5 separate regions of the Homo sapiens genome follow, and all the other regions are linked to region 2. Evidence: promoter capture Hi-C in 16 types of primary human blood cells and fetal thymus (Javierre and others, 2016). All regions are on one chromosome and are shown on one strand. Each heading gives the region's core, a stretch centred on a gene start or on the middle of the fragment in contact. The rest is flanking DNA. Distances are from core to core; before and after follow the strand shown. Region 1 overlaps GNB4 (G protein subunit beta 4). Region 2 holds the start of ACTL6A (actin like 6A). Region 3 overlaps MFN1 (mitofusin 1). Region 4 overlaps MFN1 (mitofusin 1). Region 5 overlaps GNB4 (G protein subunit beta 4).

Region 1 (2,700 bases), core at 82-2,581, 160 kb after region 2:
CCAAAATACTGGAAATACATCAAATGAGTTTAATGTGTGAAAGAAATGAAAACTAGATGAGTTTCATGGTTTCAGAAAGTTATAACCAATAACATTCCAGAGTTTGGTGATTAGCATAAGAAAGTAAATGAATTATGTTGGTATTCTTGGAAGCAGTGATGTGAGGCAGCTTTGTTCTTACGTTTTTGTCGTTCCTGTGGTGAAGGGCTCCTTCAGTGAACTTCATTGAAAATCTTGTTTTTGTTGAGAATAGCATACATAGCTCAGTAGCAAAATTTGGAATATCGAGAACTTATTAGAGATGTGGAATAATTGTCTGCATATGTTTTCCTAGATATAAGTTGAATTATAAGATGATTTTTCAAAAATTAAAACCACAAATTGATGCATGTCAAAATTCAAATAATCCAAATTTATAAATACATCCAGCTTACTCCTAACTTGTCTTCTTACTCAGAGAAATTTGTTGTTTTCTTTTAAATTATTATTATTTTTTAACTGATGAACTTTCAAGAAAACTGGACTGATAGTTTATAAGCACCCTTTTAAATCTCTGCATATACTTGTTTAATTCTAAAACCCTACAATTGCCAATTTTTTACTGAATTTTTTTTTCAGGTGTCCTTGCTGGTCATGACAACCGTGTGAGCTGCTTAGGTGTAACTGATGATGGCATGGCTGTGGCAACAGGCTCTTGGGACAGTTTTCTTAGAATCTGGAATTAACAGTGTCATACATATTTGTTCTCCATTGATATATCTGGAGAAATCAATGCTACAGCCTATAGCTGTGAAAAAATTCTACCTTATATTTGCAGGTGAAGATTTTTCTATTAGATTATCTACAAAAACAAGCTTTCAGTAAACTACCAAAAAAAAAGTGGGGGTGGAGGAAAAAAGGCAAAGGCGCCTTCTGAGATCAAAAGGACCAGTGTATTAATTTGAGGGGTTGGGTTATTTTAACCTTGGTGAATTGTTGTGTGTACTCAGAGTGTATTTTCTTTGTGTAGAACAGAATGTACACATTATAGCAGCTCGCCATTGTGTTTGCATTTTTTAAGAAGTACATTTTTAACTTTGTATACACAAGAAATGTCATATTTTTGAGTTTTGTAATGGAAGAACCAGGCACAGAAACAGACAGAAATGATACTGTATGTGTGTGTATTTATGTCTGAAGAAAGTCCCCTTGAATTCTGATATCTCTTTGAATCTAAGAGATCCTGATAGCTTCATGTTTAAGAGCATTGACAGGTGGGGCACCTCTGAGGGGAGTTCATTGTTTCTCATGCATCATTTGCCATATACTATTAATCAAAGTGCTTGCTTTCAGTCCTTTGAGGGGACAGATAATCTGAAGGCCAGAGATTAGAGATTTCACTGATATTTTGGACATACATAAGAAACATCATTATAATTAATAAAAAGTAGGTAATAGCATATAAATGGTTCTTGACATTTTAAAAGCCTGGTTATGATCAGTTGACACTTTGAGTACCCCCCTAAATAGCTGGACTTTCCTTTTCATTTCATATTTGGAACTAAGTTTGTAGCGTATACTCATCTTTCAGAAGTTTGGTAAACATTGGGATTGTCCCTGCATCTGAACATCTTTCCCAGTGCTATCAGTATACATCTAGAGAGGAAATGCAATGTGACAGTGTTACATTTGGAGAGAAGTGTGAAATCTAACCAATCGCTAGCACATATTTGTTGTAATACGGTGGTTTATTTCATGTTTGCATACTATAAAATCTGAATTGATGTGAAATATCTGTGCCTTTAAATTTCTTAAACCTTTAAGCTTTTTGTTCTGTTTTGCAACATTTTGTAGTATTTCTTCCCTTCCTTAGCACAAAATACTGGTTTCTAAGTGGTTTTGCTTCAAAGGATGTCTAGATGTAAGTGATTCCACTTAAAGCCAAAATAAAAATTCCTAAAGCAGTTCTTAAAGGAGTTAGAGAGCTATATTAAACAGTTTTTCTGTGGTATAATAATGTGTCTCTTACTAGAAGTCCCCCACGACCAAGTTAAAGATACTTTTCCTGTTGGATTCTCTTTTACAAATAAGTCTAAATGACTGATAATAGAAGATTGTTAGTCTTGCTTGATGGTAAAGTCTTGGATTATTCTGATATATAGACGTGCATTGTTTTGTAACTTAGTTACTTTTCAGATAGGTCTGTGTTAACTTTTGAACATGTGTAACTTAACCTAAATACTCCCAAACTTTACCTCTAAATTTTTGTTTTTATGTTGTGAATGTGCTAATATGTGCATCAACTGTAAAGATGTATCAGTTTTATTAAAATCAGTTGACAATTAGAATAATAAAGTGGATAAAGGCAAATTAAGATATAGGACCAAAACAGAATATTGTAGATGGCAGTTATGAATGTATATTTATATTTTGATTAAGATTTCTATTAACTTTTTGGCTGGGCAGAGTGGCTTACACCTATAATCCCAGCAATTTGGGAGGCCAAGGTGGGCAGATCACTTGAGGTCAGGAGTTCGCGACCAGCCTACCCAACATGGTGAAACCCCATCTCTTCTAAAAATACAAACATTAGCCGGGCGTGGTGGCACATTCCTGTAATCCCAGCTACTCGGGAGGCTGAGGCAGGAGATTCGCCTGAACCCGGGAGGCAGAGGTTGCAGTGAGCCGAGATTGTGCCACTGCACTCCAGCCTAGGCGACA
Region 2 (2,700 bases), core at 186-2,685:
GGGTGATGTGATTTTCTTGGGGAACATGAAGGAAAAATCTTATTTTTGTTGTTTCCTACCTGTAAAATGACATCCTTTATAGAAACAGCATCACTACTAGACACAGTAACAACAGCAATAGTCTGGATTTGTTTTCTGGGTCTCTAACTCATCAAACACAACCCAACACATGAATTATATGTATCAGTGTTTCGATTAACCTGCAGATCTTGCAAAAATGGAGGCTCTAAATCAGTAGATTCTGAATGACGCGTGAGATCCTGCATTTCTAACAGGCTTGCAGGTGATGCTGACACTGCTGGTCCATGGGCCAGACTTTAAGTGGCAAATGCAGCATTATTTCATTTAACCTTCATGCCCACCCCCATCGGCTAGGAATTATTCCATAAATGAGGCCTGAAGTTGGAAAGTTACATAAACTGCCCAAGACCAAAGCGCTTAATAAAGAGTGAGGTGGATATTTCAACCCAGGTCTGTAACCCCCGGCACCTGGTAATCTTCCTACCACACCACAGTCTAATCAAAGAAAGTGAAAAAATAACACGCCTAGGACCCCCAGCAAACTTTCTGGGCATCCTTAAATTACACGTGCTCCTGAATTGATCTCAAACAGACCCGCCCACGAGTCACTCTGGAGACTCCGCAGCCAAAAAACAGGCAAGAGTTACTGAAAGGTGAGGCAGCTCGCGCATGGGGCGCAGACGGGGAGGAGGCAGTACCCTAAGTGGCCGCCGCTTCCCTAGTCAGTTCTACGGCTTGAGGCTCGCTTTGCCACCTATGGGACACTCTGGGAACCCTCCGTCCACGCTTGCAAACCGCCGGGACCTTCCAAGTTTAGGCGGGCGCACACGCGTCCCGACACAGCTGAGTCCAGGAGGCACTCGGGGAGATGCGACCCTGGGGCGGTCACCCAAGCCGGGGCCCGGCGGCCGGCTAGACTGAGCCTCCCGCCCAGCCCCGAGGCTCCCTAGAGAACCGAGCGCGCACCCCAAAACCCTGCTCCTCCGGGGACAGAGGCAGGAAGAGGCCACAGAGAGCCGCCACTTCAGGGAGCCCGAGGAGCACGGCGAGCCGGGTGGGCTCCGGGGGCGGGCAGAGCGTGGGGCGGGGACGGGGCGGGGAGGCCGGGGTCCCGAGAGGGGGAGACCGGAAGGGAACGCCGGGGAGGGGAGGGCTGGGAGCGGCGGTTACAAACCCCACACGCCGAAAAGGCGCGCTCTCTCGTCCGGCCGCACTCACTCACCTCCCCCGTACACGCCGCCGCTCATGGCTGCTGCCGGCGCGACTCCTACCCTAAGGGCTAACTGGCGAAGTGACTGCAGTGGCCGCGACTGCGAGTCTCGAGGAGCGATAGCCCCTGACTCCCTTAACTTCCACCGCCACCCACCTCAGGCAACAAAGCGGCGTCCACACACCCCGGAGCTCAGCCACACTTGCTGGCTCCTCCTATCAGCCAATCACTAGGGTCCAGGCCTAAGTCTAGCCAATCAGAATGCGGCTGCGCCGCATCCCCGCCGCGGCCCAGCAGGTTTAGCCAATCGAAGGCAGCCATGGGGGCGGGAAAGAGGAAAGCGACAGCAGGACAGAAGGAGTTGGGTTGCGGAGCTGGAGGGGGCGGAGCTTCCCGGGTGGGCGAGGGAATGGGCGGAGGCAGTGGGAGAAGAAGGAGGAAGGCTGGAAGAAGCATGGGGGCGGGACTAGGAGGTGCGTCTGGGCGCTGAGGAGCGGCGGGAACCCGGGTAGGGGAAGGTAGACCCCTGGAAATTGAACGGGTGTCTCCACGCCGAGATTCCTGTCCAGTGACTGTGGGGAATGCGGATTTCTTTCTTTTTTTCTTCAGAAAAAGTATTTTAAACTAACTTTTATGTTGAAAAAGTAAAAATTTTGCGCTCCACTTTGGGATAGGGGAATCAGTAAATCAGACAAATTGATAGGATCTTGCAGTTTTTAAAATGGTTATTAATAAGTAAAAGAAGAATGAAATTATGCGGTATCCCAGCTAAACCTAGGTAGCGCTTTAAAAACTATTAAAAAACTTACTCATTTCTTTAAAAAAAAAAAAAAATTTCAGGCCGGGCGTGGTGGCTCATGCGTGTAATCCGAGCACTTTGGTAGGCCGAGGCGGGCAGATCACAAGGTCAGGAGTTCGAGACCAGCCTAGGCAACACAGTGAAACCCTGTGTCTACTAAAAATGAGAAAAGTAGCCGGGCCTGTAGTCCCAGCTACGCAGGAGGCTGAGGCAGGAGAGTCGCTTGAACCCGGGAGGCAGAGGTTGCAGTGAGCCGAGATTGCGCCACTGCACTCCAGCCTGGGCGACAGAGCAAGACTCTGTCTCAAAAAAAAAAAAAATCAATTTCTTTTATCCTGTGAGAGGTATTTAAAACAGCTAATCAATCTTCATTCAAGCAAGCACCCAATCCTAAATAGGCATCCCAAAAACAGCCTTAGTCCCCTATTTCTACCAGCCTAGTCCAGATCACCTTCCTTTATCCCCAGATTACTGCAACAACTTGTTGCTGTGTCCCTTTGCCACTCTTGATCAAGGGAGCTTCATCTGTGAAAACGCCCAAACCCGATCAGGACACTCCAGCGCTCAAACCCTTAAGATTGCTGCCTATCCTTGTAATTGATCCTTGTCTAGAGTCTAGACATGCAGTGCCTACTTTTAACCTTAGAAACGATTGACTAAAACCCCATCA
Region 3 (2,700 bases), core at 76-2,575, 180 kb after region 2:
TTGGAACCAACCCAAATGTCCAACAATGATAGACTGGATTAAGAAAATGTGGCACATATACACCATGGAATACTATGCAGCCATAAAAAATGATGAGTTCATGTCCTTTGTAGGGACATCGATGAAGCTGGAAACCATCATTCTCAGCAAACTATTGCAAGGACAAAAAACCAAACACTGCATGTTCTCACTCATAGGTGGGAATTGAACAATGAGAACACTTGGACACAGGAAGGGGAACATCACACCCCGGGGCCTGTTGTGGGATGGGAGGAAGGAGGAGGGATAGCATTAGGAGATATACCTAATGTAAATGATGAGTTAATGGGTGCAGCACACTAACATGGCACATGTATACATATGTAACAAACCTGCACGTTGTGTACATGTACCCTAGAACTTAAAAGTATAATAAAAAAAAATTAAAAAAATGCTTGTATTTATGCTAGTTTATTTGAAATGTGAAAACCAAATCTTTTAAGAAAACAGAAATGTTTCAAAAATGAATGTAGCACCACCTGCAACAGTATTGGACGAAAGCTTTAGGATAAGCTTTCCCTTAAGCATACTACAGGTTGAGTGTCCCTTATCCAAAATGCTTGGGACCAGAAGTGTTTCAGATTTCAGATTTTTTAGGATTTTTGAATATTTCATAGATATAATGAGCTATCTTGAGGATGGGACCCAAGTCCAAACACAAAATTCATTTATGCTTCATATACCTTATATGCATAGCCTGAAGGTAATTTTATCCAATATTTAAATAATTTTGTGCATGAAACAAAGGTTGTGTACACTGACTTATCAGAAAACACAGGTGTTGCTATGTCAGCCACCCATGTGAACACTCTATGGTTGTTTGGCATCACCATCATTCTTGATTGAATTTACATACTACTGACAAGCAATCATTTTCTTACACGGATTCACACAAAGGAACTTAATAGTAAAAATATAAGACACACCATTAATAACAGTGAAAAATAACGTATTCAAACTAAGCAGCACAGTGGCATCACCAGAACACCTGTATCAGCTGTTAAACAGCAACAATGGCAGGCTTTCAGTCTCTACCTACAATGTTATGTTTTGATTAAAAAGTTCCGGTACACAGTACTTTGTTAGGTGAGAAGAAACATCAGAAGCAGTTGAGGGACCAAGAAGTGGGTCCTCTCGGCATAATAAGACATTGTGCTGAATGGCCTTTTAAAATGTTTCCTGCAGTACCACCTACTTGCCTCTTTAACAATGGTTTTTGTTGAAGTCTCTCCTTGATTTTATAAACCTATTTCTTGTTCTGTTATGAATACATGCTGCTCTAGTGCTTCAATAAGCCCATCACCATGCTGCCTATAGGCAGTTGTTCTGCGAGGTCAATGAAATCATCTTCATTATCACCATTATCATAATCACCTTGATTTAGAAGCATTTTAGCTATTTTGCCATCAGTTAATGAATGAACAACTGAAACCTCATTATCAATGTCAAACACTTCTTTGATATATCCTTCTTCCAGCTTACGGATGGACTCTGAAGATATTATTTTTTGCATAAGGAGCTCACTTGACATACTTCAAAGTCACCAATTTGCTCCTCATCATCAATAAATGTAGTGACAGGCAGAGGCTGCAGGCATACACAACTGAGTCACTGTCTTCCAAGTGCTGGCATATATGGCATCCTTCATCCTAAACTCCTTGTGCTGGCAAAAGCATCTATGGCATCTTTCATTCTAAACTCCTTCTGAAAACCTTCCACACCCAGGCCTCAGTTCACTGCTGCTAGCATGCTGCCCAAAAAAGGTTTTTGTATTTACTCTTCATTGATCGTAGAATACCCTGGTCACAAGGTTGAAATAATGAAACACTTTTTTTAATAAGAATTTCAGCTAGACGATGAGCAGAATAGTTGTCAAGGAATAACAAAATCTTGCAGTCATCATCCGGCCTAGCTTCCCTGCAAGTGCACACAAGCTGGTATAAAATGTTTGTGAAACCAATCAGAAAAGATGTCCCTAGGGATCCATGCCTTTTTGTTAGTACAATAATGGACTAGTAAAAAAAATGCATTCCTTGAAAACAGTGAGGATGCAAGCTTTTGCCTATCACAGTAAGTTCACATTTATGCCTGCTGCATTAGCACATCCCAGCACAGTTATTCTGTTCTTTGCATCCTTTATTCTTGTAGGGGCTGTCTCCTCAGCTGTAGTCAGTGTCTTTCTGGGTCAATAATGGCAAAACAGTGATGTTTCATCAGCATTATAGACTTGTTCTGGAGTCAGATTTTCATCAGAGACAATCTTGGCAAATTCATCAATGAATTTCTCTGCTGTTTTGTGATCAAGATGCTTTAACACCACAAACCTTTAGAAAAGTTAATGCTATCTTACCTTAAATTTCTCTAACCAGCCTATTGAATACTCACAGTTCCCTTCGATTTTCAGTTCATTTTAATAGATGTTTATTTCATGATCAGCATGTCCTTAAGTGGCACGTGTTCACTGCAATGCTGATGGATCCACTCTTTCAATGCATGATCAAGATCTTCGTTTTTAACTTTCTGCAGTGTTTTTGTTTTTTTCATTAACTTCTGTCATCATTTTTAGCATGGAACTTCAACAGTTTAGTCCTAAAGAACAACTTTAGGAAAGTTGTTCTTTCTTTTAGGTCATATATGGTGTTCATTCCAACATCATTCTTC
Region 4 (2,700 bases), core at 104-2,603, 200 kb after region 2:
CCAGAAGCTAGAACCATCAAGCCCTATACTGCTAGAGAAATCCAGGGAACTACACACTATAGAAAGACTAGAAACAGCCCTTCTGGTTCTATGAAAACACAAACCCCTTCATTCATGCCTGTTTTTAGAAGTTTTTTCTAATCCACGATATGGATTTCCCTTGCTTTTCAGAATTAAAACAGATACCATTTCATTTCCTACCATCGAAACACAATAATATGATTAAATCCTACCGTATTCATTAGTGTTGATTCAGAGTTTGCGACCAAAACAAAGACATCAGCATCTAGGCAAAACTTATCAATCCAGCTATCCAGCTCTGTAGTGACATCTGTGCCTGGACTAATGAGAGTGAAATAAAAATTGTATTATATTTCTTAAAAAGAAAATTTGGGTTACAGAATTTTTTCAGCTTTTATATATAATTTGAAGTTTAAAAACCAGGATTTCCAGCTGTCATCTGTAAGAAGTCTAGGAAATTTTAACTTAGTGATCTTTGACAAAGCAAATAACATGCTCAATATTTCAATCTTTTTAATGTTTATGCTTTAGATGGCTGAAATATAAAACTAGGCTAATAGATACTAAACAATGAGGGTTCAAGCAGCTATATCCAGTATGGCTCAGAGATGATTTAAGCACTTATAAACACAAATAAAAAAATATAAATTTAATATACCAACTGTACTAGGAGCTGCAGTGAAGAATTTGCCAACAATAAATATTTGTAAAAAGTTAAAAAATTTATTCATTTAAAATTTTTATGGGTATATATTAATTAAGTATACATATTTATGAGGTATATGAAGTATTTTGATACAAGCATACAATGTGTAATAATCACATCAGGGGCTGAGTGCAGTGGCATATTCCTATAATCCTAGCATTTTGGGATGCCAAGGCGGGAGTTTGAGTCCAGGACTTTGAGACCAGCCTGAGCAACATGACAAAACCCTGACTCCACATACACAAAAAAAAAATTAGCTAGGCTTGGTGGCATGCCCCTGTAGCCCCAGCTACTCTGGTGGCTGAGGTGGAAGGGTTGCTTAAGACTGGGAAGCGGAGTTTGCAATAAGCCATGATCCCACCACTGCACTCCAGACTGGGCAACACAGCAAGACCCTGCCTCCGAAAAAAAAAAAAATCACGTGGTAAACGAGGTATCTATCACCTCAAGCATTTATTCTTTGTATTACAAACAATACAATTATATTCTTTTAGTTATTTTTAAATGTACAATTAAATTGTTATTCAGCCAGGTACGGCAGCTCACACCTGTCATTTCAGCACTTTGGGAGGCTGAGATGGGGGGATTACTTGAAGCCAGGAGTTTGAGACCAGCCTGGCCAACATGGTGAATCCCCGTCTCTACCAAAAAATACAAAGATTAGCCAGGCGTGGTGGCTACTCAGGAGGCTGAGGCACAAGAATGGCTTGAACCCCGGAGGGGGAGGTTGCAGCAAGCTGACACTGCGCCACTGTACTCCAGCCTAGGTGACAGAGTGAGACTCTGTCTCAAAAAAATAAATAAAAATCAATTATTTTTCACTACCGTTACCCATTTTGGTACCAAATACTAGATCTCATTCATATTTTCTTGTATCTATCCAACTGTCAATCTTGACTGACTGGGTCATAGATACAATCTGGCTATGAAATAAAGCTAAACTAGTTAACATTGTATTTAAACCAAATATCTTGGTGTCATGAACATCTTCTCTCTCCTCTGTTTCTATGGATTACTTGAAACACTCATTTCCATTTAAAAGGAAAATCCATTATCAAAAACAAAATGGAGCCAGGTGAGGTGGCTGGTGTGTGTCTGTAATCCCAGCTACCCAGGAGACTGAGGTGGGAGAATCACTTGTACCCGGCAGGCGAAGGTTGCAGTGAGCCAAGATCGTGGCACTGCGGCACTGCACTCTGGCCAAAAAAAGTGGCCATCCTTAAAATTTCTTGAAATGGAATCAGAGTGATGAATTGGTGCTTTTATGTAACTTATAAAATAAAACCAATACCATATCTCTTCCTTAATCTAGCTAATGAGAACAAAATGGCAACTGAATGTTGTAATTTTTTATACCATATGCTAAAGTAAGCAGTATTATACTATTAAATAAACTTCCAGAGAAAATGCAATCCACATGTAATTTTACCTGTCTACTAACACCAGGTCATCTCTCAAGAGGGCACATTTTGCTTTTGGCCAAAACACACGTACAAGACAGCCAGCTTTCAAATCTTTGTCCATGTGAAGGGCATGGGCCAGTTGATTAACTGTCTAAAGCAGGAGGAAAAGAAAAAAATAAACTCCACTTGTAATAAAATTCAATAAAAATTAAAAACATTGTGGTACATTTATTTTAGCAAAACAGGTATATAAAAGGTAAAACTCTGAAATAAAACCTTCTGAGCAATCTTGAGAACCTGAATTTTTAAATTTCCAAGTAGAAAAAAAATGGTTCCCTCAAAAAGAACTCCAGCAACAGAATTCTAAGCAACTCCTGATACTGATTTTGTGAAGTATATAAGTTCTGGAGTCTCTGTTCTTTTTGCCTATTTGTATTTTCTGATTCTACTGAAATAAATGTGTATCACTTAGTCATATGGAAGAAATGTCATTAGAAGAAATGTCATTATTAAAACAGGTTAAAATTACATAGCTTTTAACACCCCATAGAAAGGAATGAAATCAAGTCT
Region 5 (2,700 bases), core at 155-2,654, 140 kb after region 2:
TCAGTTACTATAAATGTACTTTATGTTTGCTTTTTTAACTCCTCACTGTTTCTAGTTCAAGTTATCTCATGAACTATGATTAAGGTAAAGAATAACATTTTTGTTGCTTTCAAAAGATTACATCAAATATGGACTCTGTGGGTCGAATACAAATGCGAACAAGACGTACACTGAGGGGCCACCTAGCTAAAATCTATGCTATGCATTGGGGATACGATTCCAGGTTTGTACCTGTCATTACCTGTCATTTTTAAACTGTTGCAGAATTATTTTCATTAAGAACCATCATTTGCATTTTCTTTGTTTAAAAACAGAATATATTCATGAAGCGTTTGCAGAAAATGCATCTCAGATGAACATGCTGCTTTCAATAAGAATATTAATTGACTCTTTAAAAGTATAAACATTTTTAATATGGAATCCAGGACAACTGTTCAGAAGAGGATTCCTTTTCTTTGCAGTGGAACATTGCAGACATTCTTTGTTTTTTAAATAGGCACAAAGCGTTTTTACTGTATATGAAGCTTGAAATTTCAGTTCATAAGCAAATACGTATTGAACACCTATGTGCAAGTTTTTGGATATTGCTATAGTTTGTTATTACATAAATTCGCAAATAATGGAAATTACATGAAACAAAGGTGTTTGTACTGAATACATCTTTTACTCCCTCGACTGCATCACAGAAAGGTGTGTGCTTGAATGTGCAAGCTGACCATCTGCAGGTGCACAGGCACACGCACAGCTGCTACGTGGCCTACAGTTAGATAGATTGCTCATCACTGTCATTCACTATGTGTATAAGGCTACAGCACAGCCTATGTTTTTCCATTGTCTGGCAATAGCAGATGTGTCTGCTATCACAGTGGTTTACTTGTTCCTTTGATTTGGTTAATCTTAATGGGAAATGCCTAAACCAAGAAACTTCTATGTTTTAATAGAAGTTGCACATTTATTCTCTTCTCCCAGGAGACACTAAAATTATAAAGTAGAAGAAGCCTCAATTGTTGCTCTAATTGGGATACTTGACCACAATAATATAGAACATGTGCCTCTTACGAAGGGATACATAAAATTATATAATTGGCAACTGACATAATGTCTTAATCTTTTTCTTTTTCTTTTCTTTTTTCTTTTTTTTTTTTTTTTTTGAGACAGAGTTTCACTCTTGTTGCCCAGGCTGGAGTACAATGGTGTGGTATCGGCTCACTGCAACCTCTGCCTCCCAGGTTCAAGGGATTTTCCTGCTTCAGCCTCCCAAGTAGCTGGGATTACAGACATCCACAACCACGCCTGACTAATTTTTGTATTTTTAGTAGAGAGGGGGTTTCACCATGTTAGCCAGCCTGGTCTTGAACTCCTGACCTCAGGTGATCCAACCGCCTCAGCCTCCCAAAGTGCTGGGATTAATCAGGTGTGAGCCACCGCGCCTGGCCGAATGTCTTATTCTTTTTCTTAAAGGAGTTGAAGATAAAAATAATTTACCTGTTGATAAAGCAAAATTTTAACTTAAAATATAGTAACTTGAAACAATGTTTATGGTTCTTGCTTTCCTTAAACGTTTTCTGAAGACTGTTAATCTTCATAGAAAAATGAAACCATCATCCAGGAACCTATCTCACATAGTCTTCCCACCCATCCGTGTTATCAATCCATTACTTAATGTTCTCCTCAACTCTTATGCTGATGATGCCAATTGATTTCTAAAGAATTTTCTTTAGATGCCATCCTATACCCCACTATCAGATAGATCTTCCCTTTTGTAAAACCTTGTAGTGATTGCTACCCAAGAATCTGATAATGTTATTTACCTCTAGGGAAAGGAACTGGGTGGCTGATGATAGGCCCAGGAAGGTGCTTTTTAAATTTTCTTCTGTATATCCTTTTTTATTTTTTGAATTTTACACCATGGTGAAAAGTAAAAATTCCAAACAAGGCTGGGCATGGTGGCTCATGCCTGTAATCCCAGAACTTTGGGAGGCCAAGCGAGTGGATCACTTGAGGTCAAGAGTTCAAGACCAGCCTGACCAACATGTTGAGATCCCATCTTACCAGTCGTGGTGGTGCACACCTGTTATGCCAGCTATTCGGGAGGCTGAGGCAGGAGAATCACTTGAACCTGAGAGGCGGAGGTTGCAGTGGGCTGAGATCGTGCCATTGCACTCTAACCTGGGTGTCACAGTGAGTGTCTGTCTCAAAAAAAAAAAAAAAATCCAAACAAAACAAAAAATTTAGTGGCTAAAATTACTTAGGAGTTCATACTCTTTAGTTTAACAAAGCTTTCTGCAGTTTAAGCCCAGTCTGCTTTTCTCAACTTATTTTTCCATTTTCTCACAAACTGTACTACTGGAAGACCCACAATTCCTGAAACAACACTCAGTGTATTTTTCTACCTGTCATTGATCTTACATAGCTTTCTCCTAAAATACAGCCTTTTCTGTATCTTTAGCTCTCAACATTTTCTTTCAAGACTCATTCTCTTGTGATTAACTCATCTAGCCATTGTTCCTCCTTTACTCTCCTGTGGCATTTATTTTATACCCCTCTTCTGACAGTTTTTACTTACTTGATTTAATATAAATATGAGTAAATGTCTTATCTTCACCAGATGGTAGAGGCCTCAAGAGCAGGCGATGTATCCTGCGTTGTACCTCTAGTATTGTCATATTCTCAGGCTCTCAATTGGTGTTTTTAGATTGG

Evidence for each region. The method cuts DNA at HindIII sites, captures the fragments that hold promoters and counts their contacts. A CHiCAGO score of 5 or more calls a contact.
Region 1: a fragment that was not itself captured here is called in contact with the fragment with the promoter of ACTL6A in region 2 in 4 of 17 cell types (M1 macrophages, total B cells, M0 macrophages and 1 more); the score reaches 7.6 in M1 macrophages.
Region 3: a contact is called between a fragment that was not itself captured here and the fragment with the promoter of ACTL6A in region 2, in 4 of 17 cell types (M2 macrophages, M1 macrophages, M0 macrophages and 1 more). The highest score is 10.3, in M2 macrophages.
Region 4: a contact is called between a fragment that was not itself captured here and the fragment with the promoter of ACTL6A in region 2, in 2 of 17 cell types (M1 macrophages and monocytes). The highest score is 7.5, in M1 macrophages.
Region 5: a fragment that was not itself captured here is called in contact with the fragment with the promoter of ACTL6A in region 2 in 6 of 17 cell types (M1 macrophages, M0 macrophages, M2 macrophages and 3 more); the score reaches 11.6 in M1 macrophages.

What each region holds. Positions count from the first base shown.
Region 1 is chr3:179,399,238-179,401,937 of GRCh38, reverse strand. GNB4 (G protein subunit beta 4) reads left to right here. Exons shown (of 10, transcript NM_021629.4): 10 at 619-2,700. The coding sequence ends at 725. Among named protein-coding and RNA genes, the nearest start is that of GNB4, 51 kb to the left of the region's middle. The HindIII fragment of the contact is 949 bases long and covers 857-1,805 here.
Region 2 is chr3:179,561,661-179,564,360 of GRCh38, reverse strand. It overlaps ACTL6A (actin like 6A), which reads right to left and starts at 1,435. Exons shown (of 14, transcript NM_004301.5): 1 at 1,244-1,435. The coding sequence starts at 1,268. RefSeq lists a silencer at 1,344-1,573. The HindIII fragment of the contact is 9,325 bases long and covers 1-2,700 here.
Region 3 is chr3:179,379,797-179,382,496 of GRCh38, reverse strand. All of the region lies in intron 14 of MFN1 (mitofusin 1), which reads right to left. Among named protein-coding and RNA genes, the nearest start is that of MFN1, 33 kb to the right of the region's middle. The HindIII fragment of the contact is 1,542 bases long and covers 555-2,096 here.
Region 4 is chr3:179,361,939-179,364,638 of GRCh38, reverse strand. MFN1 (mitofusin 1) reads right to left here. Exons shown (of 18, transcript NM_033540.3): 5 at 2,157-2,281; 6 at 234-342. Among named protein-coding and RNA genes, the nearest start is that of MFN1, 16 kb to the right of the region's middle. The HindIII fragment of the contact is 4,299 bases long and covers 1-2,700 here.
Region 5 is chr3:179,416,922-179,419,621 of GRCh38, reverse strand. It overlaps GNB4 (G protein subunit beta 4), which reads left to right. Exons shown (of 10, transcript NM_021629.4): 4 at 117-223. Among named protein-coding and RNA genes, the nearest start is that of GNB4, 33 kb to the left of the region's middle. The HindIII fragment of the contact is 1,755 bases long and covers 527-2,281 here.